2 separate regions of the Homo sapiens genome follow, and region 1 is linked to region 2. Evidence: promoter capture Hi-C in 16 types of primary human blood cells and fetal thymus (Javierre and others, 2016). All regions are on one chromosome and are shown on one strand. Each heading gives the region's core, a stretch centred on a gene start or on the middle of the fragment in contact. The rest is flanking DNA. Distances are from core to core; before and after follow the strand shown. Region 1 has its middle 14 kb from the start of RPTN. Region 2 holds the start of CRNN (cornulin).

The links. The method cuts DNA at HindIII sites, captures the fragments that hold promoters and counts their contacts. A CHiCAGO score of 5 or more calls a contact.
Region 1: a contact is called between a fragment that was not itself captured here and the fragment with the promoter of CRNN in region 2, in 4 of 17 cell types (total CD8 T cells, total CD4 T cells, naive CD8 T cells and 1 more). The highest score is 6.4, in total CD8 T cells.

Annotation. Positions count from the first base shown.
Region 1 is chr1:152,169,808-152,176,185 of GRCh38, forward strand. No RefSeq gene overlaps it. Among named protein-coding and RNA genes, the nearest start is that of RPTN, 14 kb to the left of the region's middle. The HindIII fragment of the contact is 250 bases long and covers 3,081-3,330 here.
Region 2 is chr1:152,411,212-152,417,182 of GRCh38, forward strand. It overlaps CRNN (cornulin), which reads right to left and starts at 3,052. Exons shown (of 3, transcript NM_016190.3): 1 at 3,003-3,052; 2 at 885-1,035. The coding sequence starts at 1,022. The HindIII fragment of the contact is 578 bases long and covers 2,704-3,281 here.

The DNA.
Region 1 (6,378 bases), core at 1,956-4,455, 240 kb before region 2:
ATCTGTATATGCTGATTCAGCTGTAATCCAGTCGCTCACTTGTTACACTCTTACATTTTCACCAGTAAGTAGTCCTTGTGCCTCCTTGTATGGGTGGCCCAGTCTCTGATACTAGATCAGCAGCTTCAGCTTCATGCAGAGTCCTTCCTTTGAAAAACCAGCTTTTGCTTGATTTTATTATAGGATCTTGGTCTCATGTTAGTGTCTCTCTACCTCAGTCTTCCCAGAATGTAGGAATTCTTGCCCATAATATTAGGCCAGTACTTTTGTTCTAGGCTTATCTCAACAGACCTGATATCCACCTTTTCTCTTCCTATTACTCAGTAAGCATCCATCTTTAGATTGTGAACATACAAGACGCTGGCCTTTATAGGGCCTCTTATCTCTGTCACAGCATGGAGTTTTCATGAAAACAAGGGGCTGAGAACTCTGCTGGCACATAGTAGGCACTCAGGACAGGTTAGCTGCTTTCAATATTATTTTTCTGTTCGTAGATGTCTTAGCATGATTATTATTTTTACTGAAACCCACCCAAATTATCCATATGGAACAGTGGGCTCTGACCCAGGAAAGGGGGGCCCAGGAATTACTGTACTGCCTGTTGAGCACGTGCCTTAGTGTGTCCATCTGTCTGCTAACCTCTTGGCTGTGTCTACCGGCACTGTGTTGCCACCTCCTGTGCAGCACTCATCCTCTGTGCTGCTCTCCTGGCTTGCCTGTCCTCCATGCAGAGCTGTGGCCTTCCTAAGGGCTCCATTGATGGTTTATTCATCTTTGTTTGCCCAGCTCACAGCTCAGCTCCTAACGTACAGCATGCTCTGGGAAATGCCTTCGGGTGAATAACTTAAAAAGGAGAACCAAATGATGGATGCCACTGAACTGTGTACAGAAAATGAAACAGAAATACTCTTAGCTAACTTGGCTCTAGAGCCAGACTGCCTGGGTTTGAATGCTGGCTCTGGTGCTTATGAGCTGGATGAGCTTATACAGTGACTGGCACATAGTAAGCCCTCAATGAATGTAAACTATGATTATTTTTTATCATCATCATTATAAAAAGTCTTTAGTGGACTGGCTTCTTAAATACTGAGTGCAGTTTTGGCCTCCAAAACCCATAAGTAAGAAGTAATTTTGAAATATTAGAAAAAGTTAACTAGAAGGTGATGACAAAGAATCTCCTACTTCAAGGCCTCTGTAGTTGCTGTTTCCACAGAAATACTGTTCCCTCAGTCACATGATTTAATTCCTCATTTAATTCAAGTATTTACTCAAGTGTCACCTTATCAGAAAAATTTCTGGCCATCCTGTAAATAGCAAACTTTTCCCACTAATTCTCCATTCTACTACTCTGCTTTATTTTTCTTCTTGGCACTTATTACCGTCACTTGAATTAGTACATATTTGTTCATTTATTATCTCTCTCCCCCACTAGAAAGTAAGCACCTTGTAGCCTCAGTGCCTAGGACAGTGCCTGGCATGGTGGGTAAATGTTTGTTGATAGGATTGAGTGGTAAAAGCAAGTCTCTTCATTTAGAGAGGATGACAGCAGAGAAAAGGTTAAGTGGAAGACTATAAGATCAAGAAAGGCCTGTATTATATGAATATAGTTATAATCACAATTACCTAAAATACTAGAATAAGGAAGTCCCATCTTTTTAAGGCTTGAAAAAGGTAAGATTAAGACAAAGGGAAGGAAGTTTTATTTTACACAACAGGGCATAGTTTAGGGGAATTCCTCGATCCAAGAAGTGGTGCCTTGTGGAAAGTAAGAATCTGTTCATAGATTTCTGGAACATCTGGGTACCTTTCTAGCCATTTAGCCTTGGGGGTTTCGTTAGCTTTCTTGCATTCTGCTCCTGGGGCCTCAGTTAGAGGCAGGCTCTTGTCTGAAGACACATGGGGCTGGTGTCAAATTGGCCATTTTGGATGTTTCTATGAACCAACATAATGAGAGAGAGAAGTGAGAGGGCAAAGAACAGAGGTTGTTAAGAGCAAAGAGGAGGGATGGAGGGTTGGAAAGAGACCGAGTGGAGAATAAGGGATTGGTATTTCCCCTGGGTCTTCACAAGTGGGAGACACAGGGAAGAAACCCTGGCAGAAGTGTTTACATTTGAAAAGTTTAGAGGACTACCATAGACCTTGGGTTAGAAAGGTTCATGCATTCTATGGTTTCTTCATTTAACAAATGTTTATTGATAACCGACTATGTATCAGACACTCTTCTAGAGATGGAGTTTGCAGCAGTGAAATCCTGCCCTCATACAGCTTTTACATTCTAGGCTGGGGATACATACAATAAACAAAGAAGTAACGTGTGTATGTCAGTGCCAAGTGCTATGGTGAGAAAGATACAGGGAAGGGGACAGGAAGTGCTGGATGGTGGGTGGAATGGGGGGCAGGGACAGGTTGTGATTTGTAACTGGGCAGGTGACCAGCGAAGGCCCCTCTGAGAAGGTGACATTTGATAATGGCCTGAAGGAGGCGAAGTTTTCTCTCTGGCTTCAACCAGAGGCCTCCTTGGTCCTGGGCAGCTGGGTTATTTATGTTTAACTGTGTGCTCCTGAGTCTCATTTCCTTCCCTGGCCCAGGCTCTCTAGTTTCCTTTACCCAGTAAATATTAGGCGCTGGGGACACACCATGAACAAGACAGAGAGGCTCCATGACTCTGTGGACCTTTCAGTCCAAAAAAAGGAAATAGGTAAATGGTTATTACCCAACAGTGTGAGGGATGCTGCATTAGGACATTTCCAGCTCAGAGCAGGGCATTGTTCTTACTAGAGGGTGATTAGGAAAGGCTTCCCAGCTGAGATGGAATCTTCAGTTGGAGTTTGTCTTTTCTTCATTTCCAGTCCTTTGTCCTTGTCTTCTGTCCACTCCTTTCTTTGCTGAATATTTCCTCAGATTTCAAGTCCCATCTCACATTTCTTGTTGTGTTAGACATCATGACTGATTTTTCCTTGGCCTCTACTTCCCAGTTTAATGAAGATAATAGCTATTGCCACCCACATACTCATAAGAATGCAGAAGTGTTACAGGGGATTAATGGCATTTTAGGATTAAGGACATGATGGTAGTTTAAAAGCTTTTAGCGCCTCCTAAATTAGGAGATCTACCTGACATTGCTAAGCCTCTCAGATTTCGCTGTGGCAATAGTTCTGTTTCTCCTTAGGCTCACACTAGCTACTGTTTGGAAAATTTGGGCACAATTGTCTTGGGTGTTAAGTCCTTGTCCTTTGGACCCCACCTCTTTCCCTTATAGGACTTTGTGATAAGAGAGCTTAGTAATGTGGCACTTGATGAACTTACAAGGGATGTGACAGGTGTCAGGGAAGCTTGATGATTGTCAGCCACAGCCACAGTGGGAACTGATGCAGACTTCTCAGTAGTTCTCTTGTTCTTGTGTCACAGACCCCACTGATCTGGGTGGGGGGGGCACCAGAGGCCTTAGAAGCAGGACACCTTTCTCTATCTGGGTCTTCATAATCTGTCCTGTCTTCTATTTCTGACTCCATCTCCCCTTCAAAACTCCCCTGCTCTACTTAAAATGATCTCTTTGCCTAGCCTTGGGTGCATTTCCACATCTCCAGTAAGGTGGTAAGTCCTCTGAAGTAGGTTTCATTCTCCCCTCAATCTCTTTAAATCTACCCATCCTTCAATGTCCACTCCCAACAAAACCACTCGAGTTCTTTAATCTCTCTCCAACCTGCACTTGGGGATCACATCTTATCTCATAGAGCTTCTTTGGTTCAGATCAACATCTACCTCCATATAGAGTCGTCAAGCTGGAACAGACCAGCACTGCTTAGCTCTAATCCAGTATTTTTCAAACTGTGTTCCTTGGCACCTGTCAGGGGCTGAGCTGAGCAGACAGGATTCTGCTGTTTATCCCCATTCAACTCACTGCTTTTATCTTTAAAACATCTGAAGCTTTTCCCTGAGGAAAGGATTCTGCAGTCAAAGAGTTTGAAAACTATAATATCAAATTTGATTTGTTTGTAAAATGGAAATAGAGGCCCATGTACACAATGGCACATCGCTAGGCAGTGCTGGAATCAGCACCCCAGGATCCCAAGACCTATGCTTCCTATTAACAGAAAGTATCAGTGGAGTTGTGATGTGCTCTGTTGTACTATCTAGAGTGAATTAGAATCTCTTTGAAATCATAAAATGTCTTATATATCCTCGTTCTTTGGCACAATGCCTTGCTCATAGACGCTTAACAAATATCAGCTGCCACTGCTGATGGTGATGACAAGGGTGACACACATCTAGCAAGCCCCCTGAGAGTACCCTGGGTGGCTTTCTTGGCTTTGGCCCTTCCACTGATGTGCTTATGGCAGTGGCTGGGCCCTCAGTTCAGGCAAGGCACCTCATGGGGATCCTAACTGTGCTTTTAGTTATCTGCAAGGTCAACAGGAACCAACTCTGCCTTTATTCCTCATCCTTTCACCACTGGCCTTAAAGCTGCTTCACCAGGAAACTGGAATACTCCCTAACAAACAAAGTGTCCAAGCTTGTGTCTGGCTCCCTTGCCTGAACTCCTCTTTCTACTCTGTCTACACATGTTTTTAGTTTAGTTTAGTTTAGTTTTTTGAGACAGGGTTTGCTCTCTCCTCCAGGCTGGAGTGCAGTGGCGCCATCACGGCTCACTGAAGCCTCAACCTTCCAAGCTCAAGTGATCCTCCCACTTCAGCCTCCCATGAGTAGCTGGAACTACAGGCATGCTCCACCACACCCAATTAATTTTTGTATTTTTTGTAGACATGGGATTTTGCCATGTTGCTCAGGCTGATCTTGAACTCCTGGGCTCAGGTGACTCTCCCACCTTGGCCTCCCAAAGTAGTGGGATTATAGGCATGTGCTACAATGCCTGGCCTATACATGTTCTTTTATGATCCACCTCCTTCATGAAGCTTTCTGTAATTCCTCAGGCTCCTATTTATCTTCGTGTCTCTATTAATCACACTTTTACCAAATATTTATCGAGCTCTTTAAACTATGCTATGTACTTTACATCCATCCTCTCATTTGATGCTTACAACAAGCTTATGAGATAGATAATATTATCACTCTCATTTTATACATGAGGAAATTAAGGCTAAAAGAGATTAAATTATTTGTCCAAGGTCATAGAGGTAGAAAATAGTAGTGGTGAGATTTATATCCAGGCAGTCAGATCCCAGAACTTATGGGCCTAACAGTTGCAACCATACAGAGCTCCTATTTGGTATGGAGACAGCCACACTTTGTATCATTTACCCACAGATTCCTTCACCCAATATTTCCTAGATACTGACTATATTCAAAAGACCTTAAACAGTTTTAAAAGTTTATGTTAAAATTGCCCCATCTTCCTAGTGTCCCTGTGTGGAAATCTAATCTTGTCAACTTGACTGCAAGCTCCTTGAGGGTAGCTTCTTTATTCCTATCTCTCTTTTACCCTCTGCCCTTTTATCCTGTCCCAGTATGCTGGATGTAGATGCTCACCCAACTGATGGTCTTGATTGGATTATAGCACCTATAGTCTGTGACATGTGCAACAGATTCTCAAATTGGGGGAGAAGTTAGAAGTCTTCTGGTGAACTTCCCTGATTCCAAGTAGCCCCAACTACAGCTACAACTAAACCATTTAAGGCAACACAATAATTTAATTCAGGGGTTGGCAAATGATGGCCCATGGGACCAATCAAGCCTGCTGTTTTTGTAAGGCCCACGAGCTAAGAATGGTTTCACATTTTTCACTGATTGAAAAAAATCAAAAGAAGAATACTACTTTGTGACACTAAAAATTATATGAAATTCAAATCTTAGTGTCTATAAATAAAGTTGTATTGAAACACAGCTTTGCTTATTCATTACATAATATTGTATATGGCTGCTTTCATGGGACAACACCTGCTCAATGTTTCTGGGTGGGCTGAAAATTGCAGTACTGCTATTGTAATTTGACACCATTGGGAGTGCCACTTTATAGTTGTACCATAATGTTTTATTTTACTTTTTAATTACTAGTGCATGCCCATCATGTCAAAACAAAAAAAGAAGACAGAAATGGACTTCAAATGTCACACTTTCAAGGCAGGATTCTTTTGTTTGTAATGAATTAGATGGCAAAGCATTATGTTTATCATGCAATGACACTATAGCTGTGTTAATAGACTATATGTTGAAATGATCAGACTAAGCACTAATCACAATATTTCCAACTCACAGGAAGCAACAGTTAGAAAAATTAGGAAATTTAAAATAAAATATGTCATCATAGCAGAATTTCTTTATTAAAAAAATGAAAATGAGACTGCAACTAAAGTAAGTTTCTGAGTGGCTCATTTGTTAGCCAAACAAGTTAATCAATGGTGCATTAATTAAATCACGTTC
Region 2 (5,971 bases), core at 1,802-4,301:
AATTATTGAATTCACAATGCAACTGTTTGGGCTCTCAAGTTGACTGTCTGGGCTGCCCTTGGCACCTTGCCCCTGGCACTGAGGCCTTAGTCTCTTCAGCAGGCCCAGCACAAAGAGCAGCAGGTTGGGAACACAGCCCCATGGGAATTCTGTGCGCTCCTCATTGAGGCCCAGATGTTTCCCCATGATAAAGAGGGAGGGAAGCAGTGGGCCCCTGCAGCGCTGCCCTGAGCATGTGGATGCAGCATCCTTCTGTGCCCATATGTCCTTGTCCCTAAGGCCATCATCATCCTGGTTGCTTTAGATGCAAACCAAAGACAGGAAAGTGCATCAAGGCCTTGGTTCTGGTTTGCCAGGTGGGGTGGGGTGAGGCTCCAAAGTCTCCCCCTAGCTATTAACAACCTGCTCTTCAAAATTTCATTTCTGATGTGATCAGTCTGCTAATATTTTTGAGTAACTGCTTCGTGCAAGCCCAGAGCTATGCTTCTAATGAATGTCTATGAATGGATGATTACATTTCAGATAGACGTGGGAAATATTTACTGTATCAAATTTAAGAGGCGGCAGAAAGCAGCAATTATTTTCATTTTGAAATATTCCAAGGCTCTGCTCCTGTCTGAGTTGTCCTTTTAGAGCCCTTTTACCTTGTCTTTAAGTTAGAATTAATTAAAACCAAGGTTTTAATCTAAAGAGCCAGGACTTGCCAACTCCCATGACCATCTCTGGTTCTTTCACCTTTTTTTCTGCCTGCACAGCTGCCATCTGTCCCGGCAGGCCTGGGTTTAGCTGCTGCCTCCTCAAATTCCCCAGGCAAGGCCTCTGCAGGCAAACCAGGTTTCACTCTCCTGCTATGTCCCCTCTCCACCCGGCTCAGCACACCGTACCACAATCACATCGGCAAACTCTTGCTCCAAGAGTCTTTTCAGCTCCCCTCGGGTGAGCGCTGTGCAGTTGCCCTCCGTCCTTGCATAGCGCCTGAAGGCCTCGATGATCCCATTAATGTTTTGCAGTAACTGAGGCATCTTTGAAGTCAACCTGGAAAAGATGAAAAGTTCCCTTGGAGGCTCCATAATCAACCTCAGCTATTTCCTTTATAGCACGTCTGCTGCTAGGTCTTTCCTTGCACGTTCAGCTCTGTTTTTAGTTTTCCTTTGTCCTTTCCTACATAATGCATCTTATGTATGGGAAGGAGGAGCACACAGGATGGAGGCAGGTTCCTGAGTCAGGATTAAATGCTGGCCCCACCACTTAAGTATGGTGTGAGCTGGGACAAGTTGCTTTGCCTCTCCATGCCTCAGTTTACTACTCATTGTAATTGAAGGTGATATTAGTACTCTGTGGGATTATTGTGAAGATTTAAAGACATAATTCATAAAAAGCACTTGGCAGATGCCTGGCTTATATTAAGTGCTCCTTATTAAATATAATTATTATGCTATTATATACATATACACACATATAATTTTTGTACACCTATATAATCACTTTCCTGTACATCATCTCTTCTAATCCTTATTATTTCCACTTTTTTTTATAGGTGAGGAAACAGGCTCAGAGAAGTTAGGCCACACAATTTTTAAGGAGCCAAGAAATCCTAGGATCCATTTTTCCTTAACCCAAATGCAATGGGCTTTCTAGAATGTACCCTGTGGACAGGATTTATTTATTTATCACAAGGGTGTTAGGGTCCCATCGGGAACACCAAAAGGAAGTAAATACATCTGTGAGTCAACCCCTGTCTTGGATGGGAGCCAAGCAGAAATTCCAGGGACACAGCCCTCCCTTCTTGTTTTTTTTGGGAAAGTGGGAAGAAACTGGGCTACCACCTGCTGGGAATGCTCAGGAGGGGGGAACCTTCTTTGGGTGGGAGGCCTTCCAGTTCTGAGGGTCCAAGTTTCTCTGCATGTCGCCTCTGTCCACAGCCCTGAGACTTATCAGAGAAGTCAGCTTGCCCAACAGGCACGTGGCTCCATCAGGCCCAGATTTCTGGTGACCTATGAGTTGGTTCCTAATCAAAGGGAAAGCTTTTCTTTTTCATTAGCCAGAAATCTAGAGGTAGGTTGAGGTGAGGCCTGGGTTTGGTTGCATGAGCAAAAGGAAAAGAGACTTGAAGATTCATTAAGCAGAAGCCTTGGAGAGACCCAAAGGAGGAGATGGTATCAAAGATGACAAGTCTCAAATGCAAGGGGAGATGGAGCCTGTAGCAGCTGGAAAGCCAGAGAGAGGATGGGACGAGGCAGATATAGGTAGGAGAAGAAAGAGAAAAAAGGAAGGAAGGAGACTTGAGTTCTAGAAAAAGCAGATTAGTGTGGCCATGAGGACTCAGTAAGTCATAGCAAAAGGTGGGCTGTTCAGGAGAAACCCTTTCTAGGACCTGGTAACCAACAATTTCAGGCAAACTTTTCATCAAGGTAAAAAACTGGGGATGTTTTCCTCAACATAGATGAAAAATATCTTTCTTTTTTTTTAAAACCATGTAGCAGACTTTAACCACTGACCTTTAGATAATAAAATAATAAGATGACCTTTTAGTTACATTTTAGATTCCTTAGAAAAATCTACACATATTTTGCCTAAATATCACCCTGGTGTAGGAGAGGGGAATCATGTAAACCCCTTCATCCATGACACAGTTTGATCTTATTGTCTAGGTTGGCATAAGTAAACTGATTCTGATCCCATAGACTCTCAGCACTGCAAAGAAGCTTCCAGAGCCTTAGAAAAAAGAAACCTTTGCTGATCCAGGAAGGCACATGGGTGGCCCCATAGCCGCTGCCCACACAGTTTCCCAGTGAGAGGAGCTGCTCCCAGGCCAGCCTCAGGGAGGAGGAGAAAGCCTGATTGCTTCAGGAGAGCATGTTTCCCAACGGTAGCGTTGGTTTGCCCAGTGCTCACAGCTAGCTCTGAAGGATGCATAGTCCATACCTGACTGCCCCAGTTTTATGAGCTCAGATCACCAAGACACTGAGAATGAGAAAGAGGTTTCTTATGAGGGGACTTACCTAATGCCCAGGTGGGATGAAACAAGTGGCTGTTAAGTGGTGTGAGGAGTACCAGGTCAGTGTGATGAGAACCTTTTATAGGGGTTTTAACCAAGGCTCTTGTTTTAGACAGGATATCCTGCCCTATGGGAAGGCTTGATTCATCCAAGATCCAGCCCAGCCCAGCCACACCTCCTCTTGTCTCTGTTTTACCTGCTGATGTGTGACTGCCTTGGTCTAATTAACAGGCCCCTCCTACCACATTTGGTACCTTCTGTAGCTGAGTCCTCTTGACAGGGAAGCTTCTTTCCATTGTGATGGGCTCAGCAGTGCTTGGTACAGGCTGGGGTCCTGGTGAACATTCTTTGTCTCTATGAGCCTACAAAGTTATGGGACTCTTTCCTTTTTTTTTTTTTTTTTTTTTTGAGATGGAGTCCTGCTCTGTCGCCCAGGCTGGAGTGCAGTGGTGCGATCTTGGCTCACTGCAACCTCCGCCTCCTGGGTTCAAGCAATTCCCTGCCTCAGACTCCTGAGTAGCTGGGATTACAGGTGCCTGCCACCATGCCCAGTTAATTTTTGTATTTTTAGTAGAGACAGGGTTTCACCATGTTGAACAGGCTGATCTTGAACTCCTGACCTCATGATTCACCTGCCTCTGCCTCCCAAAGTGCTGGGATTATAGGTGTGAGCCACCGTGCCTGGCCACTGTTTCCTTTTTTAATATAAATGTTCAAGAATATATCTATTGAGGTTAACTTTTACAAAGTAGCCACTCTGAGAGGGCACACATGTTTTTGTGGTGATGTTACTTAGAACTGTTATTACTTAGAACATTTTTTGAATTCTTGTTTTGTAAGTGCCTTTCACACCTAGTGTATGAGACACAAGAAAGCCAGTTTCATCTCTTTAAAGTTGGTCTCATTTTTAATTAAAACAAAAAAAGTTAATACCTTCCCCACCCCATGCTATGGGTAGGTAGCATTTTGTAGCTGATGAGAAAAAAGGCTTACCATGATCATGTGGTAACTCCTCATTGCAAGGACAGGAAACTCAACTGGTGGCTAATCAGCAAATATTTATGGAAAGCTTGCTCCATTTCAGGCAGAGGGCTAAGGCCCTAGGAATACAGTGTTGAATACGATGGCAGCAGTTTCAACTCTCATGAAGTCTATAGCCTGGCCATCCCAGGGGTAAGTCCCCAAGAGGTTAATGATAATGGTATTGCCATTTCATTTCATTTGATTTTATTCCATTTTCATTACCATCTCATCTTATTTGATCTCCCTAGCAATCCTCTGAGGTGGTATGGCTAAGCCCAATTCATAAATGAGAACACTGAGAAATCCTCAGAGAAGTAGCCACTCTGTGAAGCGGAGACGGTGCTGGACTAGAGCCCCTCAGACTCCAGGCCTGTGTTCTCTCTGTTGCACCATGCTGCCATTTATTCTTCTCTCATTGAGTTTTGGCACCTTATGAACATCACACTTATCCTCAATGCATGAAGAACCATTCCTGAGGAGGAAGTTTTCTGAGCTCAGAAGCCAAGTCCCAAAGAGTGCTCTTGAGTGGCACTTTGCAGATAATATATACTGTGTAGCTTCCTGAGTGACTCTGGAAGGGAAAGCCATCTTTACCATCCTCACTTATAGATCAGCATGCAACAGACAGGAAAGGGAACAACAGGATAGGAAGGCATGGTAAGGGCCTTGGTTGAAGAGACTGGTGTATTGAGGGCAGCCCTGTAGCAACAGCACAGCCTCCAGCACTTCCCCTCAGGGCACAGAGCACTGGGGAGTTCCAGACTGCAGGAGGGCAGGATGCAGGCTTTGTGTTTGGAGAGATCTGTCTACATGGGGACAGGTTGGCTCCAGTCCTGGGGTGAAGGTGGGGTAGGCATACCAGCCAGGGAAAAGCAGAGTAGGGGCTTCAACCTTTGGGAGCAAGAGGGGGCTGAGGTTGCTTCTGCCTGATCAGAGTTAGAAGAAGGCCAGTATGAGAGGGTGAAGTTGGAGAACAAGAGGGAGAGCCGATTAGACCTTCTTCTGTGGTGGTGTTTGAAGCTTTTTCTGATGGGGCTTAGAACTTCCAGAAAGGTTTGGGAACTGAGGGTAAGTTAGGGAAGTAACAAGCCAGAGGCTGTATCTAGAAGATGAATATTTGGTAGGTATTATTAACCCAATTTATAGATGAAGAAACCAAGGCACAGAGAGTAAGTAAGTAAACTTAAGTAAACTACCTAAGGTCACATAGCTAGGAAGTTAGACCTGAATTTGAACTTAGGTCTGCCTGCCTCCAAAGCCTAATAGGTCTTTATGTGTGCCTGGGGCAGGACTGAGCTGTGAGGAGCTGGGGCACCATAGAAGTAGAGGTTAAAGAACTGTATGTGTGTGCTGGGCCAGTGGAGGTGGGTTGAAGTGTGCAGGTGGGGCTGGGGGAGATGAGTTGGCAGAGATTGGGACTGAGCCTGTAATTGACTGTGTAAGTTTGTTAGTTTATAAAGTTGGTGAGGAGATGTTATAAGTTAGTGTGCAAGTTGTCAGAATCAAAATGGAGTCACTTGTCTTCAAAAAAATCCTTGACAAATATAGAGCTAAGGAAGGCTGCGAAGAGAGAGTTCTCATGCTTGTACACCTGATAACACAACTATCACAAAAGACTGCAAAAACCACAACCTTACACAAAGGCCATAATAGCCTTACACAACAAACACTTCTGTGAGGACATCAGTCCAGCAGCTGCCTGTCCAACTTCATATTAGCATCACCATTGTTATTGATCTTTGTAGCCAAGAATACACATTTCAATAAAATTATGTAATTTTCATTGTTTTTCCTGTAAGAACTTTTGTTTTCCTTTACCTCCTGAATATGCACGTAGTTTACTATGGCACATGTATTCCCATTGCAATGCCCTATTCTCAAATAGGTAACTTTTTTTTTAAGAGAGATTCACTGTGGTTATTATTTAAGTTGACATTAGTGAGTCTACTT